2 separate regions of the Homo sapiens genome follow, and region 2 is linked to region 1. The links are contacts of gene promoters, found by promoter capture Hi-C in human tissues and cell types (Jung and others, 2019). All regions are on one chromosome and are shown on one strand. Each heading gives the region's core, a stretch centred on a gene start or on the middle of the fragment in contact. The rest is flanking DNA. Distances are from core to core; before and after follow the strand shown. Region 1 holds the start of HCAR2 (hydroxycarboxylic acid receptor 2). Region 2 has its middle 32 kb from the start of MIR9902-1.

Region 1 (4,980 bases), core at 1,008-3,507:
TTCTATCTTTGTTTAGACACAGGTGTAATTTCTGCTTAGTTGTTTCATGATGTAGCTCAGTGTCTGTGTCTCTTTCTTACTTTGCAGTGTGGAGTAGTTTTCTACCAGGACAGAGTTAACAACCCATAAAGGTCTCTGCTTAAGTAAGAAGTCCATTTCTGTGAACCATAACCCAGATATAGCAACGCCAGACTGTCTCCTATCAAAATTTATTGAAATGGTAGATTTTTGGTAAGTACAGAAACACAAGCGAAGGAACCAGGAGGAACGTGCACCCCTCTAACTGTGGGGCAGAGGCACATTTCCCTTTTAATGTTAAAAGCAAACAGAGGTGGGAAACAGCTTTCTATCCTGAAGCCGTTTTAACTGCCCAACCCTTAGATTACTATAAACAAGAGAGGAATGGATTGCATTAGTCGCTGGTTGAAAGCAGCAATGCCATTTCCTTTCCCATAATAACACTGTTTAGCTCAGTCCCTTCTGGGGCTAATCCCCTATTACACCCACCGGAAACACAGATATTAACCAAAGCGTGTGAGTCTCTTCCCTGAGTCCATTTCTGCTAAAGCTTGTCTGAAAGATGAATTGGTCCACGGAAGCCAGGTGACCTACTGGCTTGTTTAATGATGCCTGGGCTCCCTCCAGGAGCAACACAATTCCCTCCAATCTCAGCTCTCCTTATCCCTGCTAGAGCTCACAAGCAGGCTAGATATCACCCCAGGAGCTGAGCCCCCTCCAGTCTGAGGCAGATGTGGGAAGAAGGCCAACAAGTCACAAGTAGATCTCTGGCTCCAACTCTGCTCAGCAGAAATGCCTACAATTTGCCCATCTTCAGTCCTGCGAGCGTCAGAGATGAAGCAAAAGTTTCAGATGCCTAGAAGCTTTACTCTCTATTCCTCCAGGATTCCTGCGGTCACACCTTGCAACCAGTCTCCCACTCATCTGCCACCGTTTCCCTAAATCGCATTCTCTGAATCTGGAAGTTCCAGGAAACCTTAGGCCGAGTCCAGTGACATTACTCGATGCAACAGCCCAACTGTTTCTCCAGAGATCCTGGTTCTTGGTGACAATGTCCCTTCTTGGCATGGTTATTTAAGGAGAGGTTGGGCCCAGATAAGAGGGGCTCCATGGCTCACCGGAGTTGGCCATTAACGCCTCTGGAGCGCCTCTGGTTTTGTTGGGGTCCCCTGTGAGCTCGACGCTCGTGCTGCGGTTATTATCTGGCTCACCTGTCATCTTCCTCTGGAGGCAGCGGTTGATCAAAGTGGAGAAGAAGTTGGGAAAGGATGGGCTGGAGAAGTAGTACACCACGGGGTCCAGCATGCTGTTCATGTAGGTGAAGCTGAGAGTGATAAAGAACGCCAGGTCCACCGAGCGGTACACTTCACAATTCTGCGTGCCCGAAGTGTGCAGGAGCCAGAAGATGCGGATCCGCACAACCACGCTGGGAAGGAAGCAGATGACAAAGACGATGGCCACCACCATGATGAAGGTGATGGCTCTCTTGATCTTGGCATGCCGGTCCATTTGTCTCTGCCGCAGGCTCCAGATAATTCTGGCTGAGCAGAACAGGATGATGCCCAGGGGCAGGAAGAACTCCAGGAGGAACATGGCTTCGTGCCACTGGAAGGTATGGCAGATGCTGAAGCTGCTGCACAAATTTGCACCGCCATTCTGGATCGGCATCTTCTTCTTCAGGAGGTGGACTGTCAGGCCAATAGTGATGCCCCACAGAAGGCAAGAGATGATGGCTGCTGTCCGATTGGAGATCTTGTTCAGGGCGTGGTGGGGATGGACCACCCGGAAATACCTGTCTACCGCCACCACCGTGAGGAAGATGATGCTGCCCTGGCGGTTCATAGCCAACATGAAGAGCATCAGCCGGCAAGGGATGTCCCCAAACTTCCAGTCCCAACGCCTCACATAGTTGTCCATCAGGAAGGGCAGGCAGATGATCAGTAGAAAGTCAGCCACTGCCAGGTTGAACAGGAAAATCCGGCTGGATTTCCAGGACTTGAGGTGGAAACAGAAAATCCACAGGGCAAGGCCATTGCCCAGAAGCCCGAAGATAAACTCCAGCCCCAACACCGGCGGCAACACCTTGACAATGAAGTCATCTCGGAACACACAGCAGTTCTTCTTGTCTATTTCCAGAAAGTGATCCTGCAGATGGTGCCGATTCATGAGTGCGGCTAGTGAGTCCGATGGAGCGCCTCGCCTAGTGAATGCTCCAGCAAGGAGGTGTGTGTCTGTGTGGTGAACGTGTGGTTCCACGCCTGCCTTTATGTCATGTCAGGGTGTTGAAATAGATGACTGAATGGTTACCAGGAAACTACGAAATCTCTAAAAAAAAAAAAAAAAAAAAAAGCCAGCAAGGCTCTTATGCAACCTGCTGTTTGCATAAACAAGTAATAAGAATCCCCTGGGCAGACGGGAACCCACAAAATGTCTTAAATGTAAAGGATAAGTTTAGGCAAGCCGACTGTCATTCGAAAATCAGTGAAACATGAAGGACATCCCTTTGGAAGGCTGGGTGCTTGTATGCCAACTGAGTACTCAACGTTGCAGAATTAATTCACCGTCATCTGCTTGGCTGACATAATTAACAAAACAACAACAATAGCAATAACAATTTTTGGTGCCAAACAGTGAGGTTTTCCAGAAACACTAAGAATTAGCATGAAAAATTAACAGGCATATGACATAAACAGTAGCAGACATATGATTTCTTTTGGAAATGCTGAGAAGACAGTAGTTGCCTGTTTGATGAGGACAGACTGGTTGAATTTGACCACTTTTCCTATGCTACCTTTCTGTACAAACATGGAGTGCTTTTCCATATCAGAACTCTGCCATTCATCTCCAGTTAGGAAAAAAAAAATAGCCTGCTGGAGAGTGTAATATTTCATAAGACATTTGAAAACTTGAGCCCAGTTTCAGTGGCATGTTAACATAAGTTGGGTTTTTTGTTTGTTTATATTAGATTTTGATATGCTTCTGTGCTCAAGTGATTTATTTTTAAGTATGTGATTTCTTTTTTTTGCAAACTTTGAATTAATGAGAAAAAGGATTCATGAGGCTAGTCGTAAGCTGTAGCAAATCGGGTGTACTTTGTGCTACAAATTTGTTTTTCTGTGTCGCTCTGCATGAAGAGGGGTACCTTAGGATAGAGCATGGGGTTAGTACCCCATAAGCTGTCTGTTCTAGACAGCCCAGGAAACTGGTCAGTAAGAAAGTTGGTTGCAGGTCCCTGAAACAAACAAAAAACTGGATGAGGTCTCTAACTTGTTTTATGTCCTTGGGACCTTAGGATGTGATTTTTTTTTTTTGAGACAGAGTCTCACTCTGTCACCCAGGCTGGAGAACGGTGGAACAATCTCAGCTCACTGCAACCTCCGCCTCCCAGGTTCAAGCAATTCTTCTGCCTCAGCCTCCTGAGTATCTGGGACTACAGGCGTGCGCCACCACGCCCAGCTAATTTTTTGTATTTTTAGTAAAGACGAGGTTTCACTGTGTTGGCCAGGCTGGTCTCAAACTCCTGACCTTGTGATCCGTCTGCCTCGGCCTCCCAAAGTGCTGGGATTACAGGCGTGAGCCACCGCGCCTGGCCGTGATTTTTTTTAATGAACTTTATTTTTTGGGGCAGTGTTAGATTCACAGCAAAATGGAGCAGAAAGTACGGACGGTCCTGTGCACTCTGTCTCCACACACGCAAAACCTCCCCCACTAAGTATGTGATATTTTCAAAGCCCCCATTTTTGTAAAATTAAACTTAGAGTGACAGGACCTAAGAGGACATGGAACCCCGCCTTGTAGCGGGACACCATTGCACACATTGTTTCTCTGCTTGTCAGTGCGATTGGGTGTCATCCTATAGAATGTTTTCTCCCTTTAATATTTTGGTCTTATGAATTCTTCCATGCAGGAGGTTTCTAAATTGTGTTCCTTCTACTTTGAGTTATAAAATGTAAATTTCTTCCTTTTTTTTTTTTTTTCTGTTTTTTCTTTTGAGATGGAGTTTCGCTCTGTCGCCCAGGCTGGAGTGCAGTGGCATGATCTTGGCTCACTGCAACCTCTGCCTCCCGGGTTCATGCCATTCTCCTGCCTCAGCCTCCCAAGTAGCTGAGACTACAGGTGCAAGCCACCATGCCTGGCTAATTTTTGTATTTTTAGTAGAGATGGATTTCACCATTTTGGCCAGGCTGGTCTTGAACTCCTGACTTCAAGTGATCCTCCCGCCTTGGCATCCCAAAATGCTGGGATTGCAGGTGTGAACCATCGCTGCCACCATAAGATGTCAATTTATTTCTTTAGCTGCAAACGCAGGTTCAATAATAGGAGCTTATAGACTCTTCACAGTAAACTAGAGTCAGGATGACCTAATATTAGATTCCCATAGAACTACAAGTACTTGATGATGATCCAGGTGAGATGAAGACGATGATGAAGAAGATGATGGTGGCACCTACATTATAGAGAGCTTCCCATGTGCTGGAACCCATACTCAGTGCTTTTTTTTTTTTGAGACAAAGTCTCGCTCTTGCCTCACTGCAAGCTCCGCCTCCCGGGTTCACGCCATGCTGCCTCAGCCTCCCGAGTAGCTGGGACTACAGGCACCCACCACCATGCCCAGCTAATTTTTTATATTTTTAGTAGAGACGGGATTTCACCGTGTTAGCCAGGAGCTCAGTGCTTTTATAGTTGCTTGTTTCACCCTGACTGTAGCCCATGTGGAAGGTATTATTACTGATTCTGATTTCAAAATGAGGAAAGTGAAGCTCAGAGAGGATAAAATATTCAGGGCCACCCAGCTCATAAGAGCAGAGCATGGCCGGGCATGGTGGCTCACGCCTGTAATCCCAACACTTTGGGAGGCCGAGACGGGAGGATCACAAGGTCAGGAGATCCAGACCATCTTGGCCAATATGGTGAAACCCCGTCTCTACTAAAATTTACAAAAATTAGCTGGGTGTGGTGGCG
Region 2 (4,980 bases), core at 670-3,169, 40 kb before region 1:
CAGGCGCTGGTGGCTTTGGGAACACCGCGGGACCCTTTTCACTCCTAAGAATCCGAGGGTCAGATGCGTTTGGCAACATTCTCACAGGAGGAGTCAGAGGAGGCTCTCCTGCATGATGGGTGAGCCGGCATAGGAATTGTGCCAAGGGCCATTAGATTTTGTAGAGACTCTGAACCCCCTGTCCAGAGGACAGGAGCTGAGGACAACAGCAGGCGAAAAACACAAACCTCAAAGTGCGTGCACTGGAAAGAGACCAGAAAGCCAGATTGAAAATGTGGAGGTGTTGCAGGAGTAAATCACCGGTTTCCCTTACATCATCCTCTTTACTTTATTTACTTATTTACAGACAGGGTCTCGAACTCCTGGGTTCAGCGATCTTCCTGCCTCGGTTTCCTGAGTAGCTGAGATTGCAGGTGCCTTTTTACTTACAAAAATTTTTTTAATTGAGAGATAGAAATTGTATATATTTATGGTGTACAGCATGGTGTTTTGAAATATGTATACATTATGGAATGGCTAAAATGAGCTAATTAACATATGCATTATCTCTCATGACTTTTTTTGTAGCGAGAACACCTAAAATCTACTCTTAACAATTTTCAAGGACACAATCCATTGTTGTTGACACTATTTATTCATTTATTATAGAAATGGGGTCTTACTATGTTGCCCAGTCTGATCTTGAACTCCTGGCCTCAAACGATTCTCCTGCCTTGGCTTTCCAAAGCCTCTGTGCCCAGCCATTGTTGACTATAGTCACCATGTTGTACAATGGATCTCTTGAATTTATTTCTCCTGTCTAACAGAACATTTGTACCCTTTGATCAACCTCTCCCCAACCCAGCCACCCACCTCCAGCTCCCGGTAACCACCATTCCACCCTCTGCTTCTATGAGTTCAACTTTTTTAGATTCATATATAAGGGAGATCATGCAGTATTTGTCTTTCTGCGTCTGGCTTACTTCACTTAACATAAAGTCACCCAGGTTCATTCAAGTTGTGGCAAATGACAGGATTTCCTTCTTTTTAAACGCTGAATAGTACTTCATTGTGTATACACCACATTTTCTTCATTTATCCACTGATTGACACCTAGGCTGATTCCATATCTTTTTTTTTTTTTTTTTTTTTTTGGAGACAGCATCTCTCTCTGTCACCCAGGCTGGAGTGCAGTGTCACAATTTTGGCTCACTGCAACCTCCACCTCCCGGGTTCAAGTAATTCTCCTGCCTCAGCCTCCCAAGTAGCTGGGATTACAGGTACCCGCCACCATGCCTGACTAATTTTTGTATTTTTAGTAAAGATGAGGTTTTTGCTATGTTGACCAGGCTGGTCTTGAACTCCTGACCTCAAGCAATCCTCTCACCTCGGCCTCCCAAACGTGAGCCACGGCGCCCGGCCAGCTCCTATATCTTGACTGTGGATAATGTCATGAAGAATGCTGCAATAGACATGGGTGTGCAGGTATCTCTTCAACATACTGATTTCATTTCCTTCAGATATGCATTCAGTAGTGAGCTTTCTAGATCATATGGTAGTACTATTTATAATTTTTTGAGGAACCCCCATGCTATTTCCCATAATATCTTTCTTTTCATATATACACAAGACTGATATAGGAAATAAAGAAACACTGGAGACTAAAAGAGTCAAATGAAATTTTGAAGCAATAAGAAAGAAGTATATTATAGTTAAATTGTGTGCATTTTCTTTCTTTCTTCTTTTTCTTCCTTTCTCATTCTTTCTCTTTCTTTCTTTCTGATGGACTCCCTCCCTTCCTTCCTTCCTTCTTTCCTTCCTTCCTTCCCTCCTTCCTTCCCTCCCTCCCTCCCTCCCTCCTTCCTTCCCTCCTTCCTTCCTCCCTTCCTTCCTTCCTTCTTTCCTTCCTTCCTTCCCTCCTTCCTTCCCTCCTTCCTTCCCTCCCTCCCTCCCTCCCTCCCTCCTTCCTTCCTTCCTTCCTTCCTTCCTTCCTTTGTCTCCCTCTGTCACCCAGGCTGGAGTGCAATGGCACAGTCCTGACTCACTGCAACTTCTGCCTCCCGGGTTCAAGCAATTCTCCTGTCTCAGCTTCCTGAGTAGCTGGGATTACAGGCGCGTGCCACCATGCCCGCCTAATTTTTGTATTTTTAGTAGAGATGGGGTTTCACCATGTTAGCCAGGCTGGTCTCAAACTTCTGACCACAGGTGACCCACCCCCCTCAGCCTCCCAAAGTGCTGGGATTACAGGCGTGAGCCACCGCGCCCGGCCTGTTTTTCTTTCTTCATAGTTTATGAAATAATGATACACAGCTTCTAAGAGATGGTATCTGAGACTTGATTAAAGACCGGTTCCAGTTCTTCATGAGGCTCCACAGTTTCCAGAGCATTCTTGCTTGCCCACGATTGCTTCTATAACTTCCATCACCTTGGTCACCTGAGTGTGCACTTGGCTTCTTGCATCCCTGAGGGCCCCAAGTAACCCACAAAATCAGACAAATGTTGGACAAGAAACAGTAATTAAACCCAAAGCTTTGCAGGCCGTGAGTGAACACCATTCCCCCAAACCCTGGATTAGAGAGAGACAAGGGGGCAATTTACCTCAAGGGCCAAGATCCCTTCCTTACCGTTTTTATTTATTTATTTATATTTATTTATTCATTTATTTATTTTTGAGACGGCGTCTCGCTCTGTCGCCCAGGCTGGAGTGCAGTGGCGTGATCTTGGCTCACTGCAACCTCTGCCTCCTGGGTTCAAGCGATTCTCCTGCCTCAGCCTCCCAAGTAGCTGGGACTACAGGCATGTGCCACTATACCCAGCTAAGTTTTTGATTTTTAGTACAGATGGGGTTTCACCATGTTGGCCAGGCTGGTCTCGAACTCCTGACCTCAGGCGATCCGCCCACCTTGGCTTCCCAAAGTGCTGGCATTACAGGCGTGAGCCACTGGGCCCGGCCTTAATTTTTGTATTTTTAGTAGAGACAGGGTTTCAACGTGTTGGCCAGGCTGGTCTCGAACTCTTTTTTTTTTATTTTCATTTTTTTTGAGATAGAGTCTTGCTCTGTCACTCAGGCTAGAGTGGAGGGGCGTAATCTCGACTCACTGCAACCTCCACCTCCCGGGTTCAAGCAATTCTTGTGCCTCAGGCCCGCAAGTAGCTAGGATTACAGGCACACGCCACTGTGCCCAGCTAATTTTTTGTATTTTTAGTAGCAACGGGGTTTCACTATGTTGGCCAAGTTGGTCTCAAACTCCTAAACTCAGATTGGTCTCGAACCCCTGGCCTCAAGTGATCCGCCCACCTCGGTCTCCCAGAGTGCTGGGATTACAGATGTGAGCCACTGTGGCTGGACCCCTCACTGTTTTAAAGACTTGAATTATTGAGGTATTTGCTTTAAAGGTAACAATCTTTACAGTGTTGAGATACAGACTAAGGCCGGGTGCAGTGGCTCATACCTGTAATCCCAGCACTTTGGGAGGTCAAAGTGGGAGGATTGCTTGAGCCCAGGAGTTCAAGACCAGCCTGGGTGGGCAACATGAGACTTCAACACTATAAATAATTAAAAATTAGCTGGGCATGGTGGTACATGCCTGTGGTCCCAGCTTCTCAGGAGGCTGAGGTGGGAGGATCACTTGAGCTCAGGCCATCGAGGCTGCAGTGAGCTGTGATCACGCCACCACACTGCAGCTGGGGTGACAGAACGAGACCTTGTCTCAAAAAAAAAAAAGAGAGAGATTACAGACTGGTCTTTAGCTCAGTGTTTCTCGACCTTTCTTTCTCATTATTGCCCCTCCCCACTTTGCCTTTTTAGATTTTTTTCCTTAGATTTCCCACCATGAATTTTTTTATTGTGAAAAGACATATATATATATATAACATAAAAGTCACCATTTTAAAGTGGTGTTAAGTACATTTATAATTTGGTGCAATTCTCACTCCACTTTCCCGTTCTAGAGCGTTGTCTTCACTCTAAACAGAAACCATTAAGCTGTCACTTCCCATTCTCCCCTCCCCGCCAGTCCCTAGTAACCACTAAGGTTACTGTCTACAGATTTTGCCTATTCTGGACATTTCATGTAAATAGAGTCATATAAAATGTGGCCTTTCGTTCCTTCCTTCCTTCCTTCCCTCATTCCCTCACTCCCTTCCTTCTTTCCTCTTTTCTTCTCTTTTCTCTTTTTCTTTTCTCTTTTCTTTTCTTTTCTTTTCTTTCTTTGTCTCTCTCTCTCTGTCTCTCTCTCTTTTTTTCAGTGCAGTGGCGTCAGCATAGCTCAGCGAAGCCTCGACCTCCCCAGGCTCAAGTGATCCTCCCACCTTAGCCTCCTGAGAAGCTGGGACTACAGGCATGCGTCGCCACGCCCGGCTAAGTTTCGTTTTTTTTTTTTATAGAGATGGGGTCTCGCTATGTAGCCCAGACTGGTCTCAAACTACTGGGCTCAAGCGATCCACCTGCCTCAGCCTCCCAAAGTGTTGGGATTGCAGGCATGAGCCACTGCACCTGGCTCGTGTCTTTCAGTCAGCATAATGTTTCAAGATTCATCCATGATGCAGCATTCCTTGTCTTCAGTACTGCATTCCTTTTCATGTCTGAATAGTATTCCTTTGTGTGGATAGACTGCCTTTTGTTTATCCATTCATCGGTTGATGGACATTTGGGGTTGGGTTACTTTCTGGCTATTGAGAATAGTACTTCTGTGAATATATGTATTCAAATTTTTGTTTGAACACTTGTTTTCAATCTTTTGAATATTTTCCTAGGAGTAGAATTGCCGGGTAACATGGCGATTCTGTGTTTAGCTTACTGAGAAGCTGCCAAACTATTTTCCACAGTGGCTGCATCATTGTATATTCCTGCCAGCAATGCACGAGGTTCCAGTTTCCCGATATCCTCGCCAACACCCTTCCTCCCATGCAGCTTGATTTTATTTTATTTTATTTTATTTATTTGGTTTTATTTCGAGACAGGGTCTCTCTCTGTTGCCCAGTTTGGAGTGCAATGGTGTA

What was found. Contacts are between HindIII fragments. The study calls those that stand out against the background at their distance.
Region 2: a contact is called between a fragment that was not itself captured here and the fragment with the promoter of HCAR2 in region 1, in 10 of the 25 tissues and cell types used here (H1 embryonic stem cells, IMR-90 fibroblasts, adrenal gland and 7 more).

What each region holds. Positions count from the first base shown.
Region 1 is chr12:122,701,100-122,706,079 of GRCh38, forward strand. HCAR2 (hydroxycarboxylic acid receptor 2) reads right to left here and starts at 2,258. Exons shown (of 1, transcript NM_177551.4): 1 at 194-2,258. The coding sequence starts at 2,184. The coding sequence ends at 1,093. The HindIII fragment of the contact is 9,565 bases long and covers 725-4,980 here.
Region 2 is chr12:122,661,420-122,666,399 of GRCh38, forward strand. No RefSeq gene overlaps it. Among named protein-coding and RNA genes, the nearest start is that of MIR9902-1, 32 kb to the right of the region's middle. The HindIII fragment of the contact is 5,920 bases long and covers 1-4,879 here.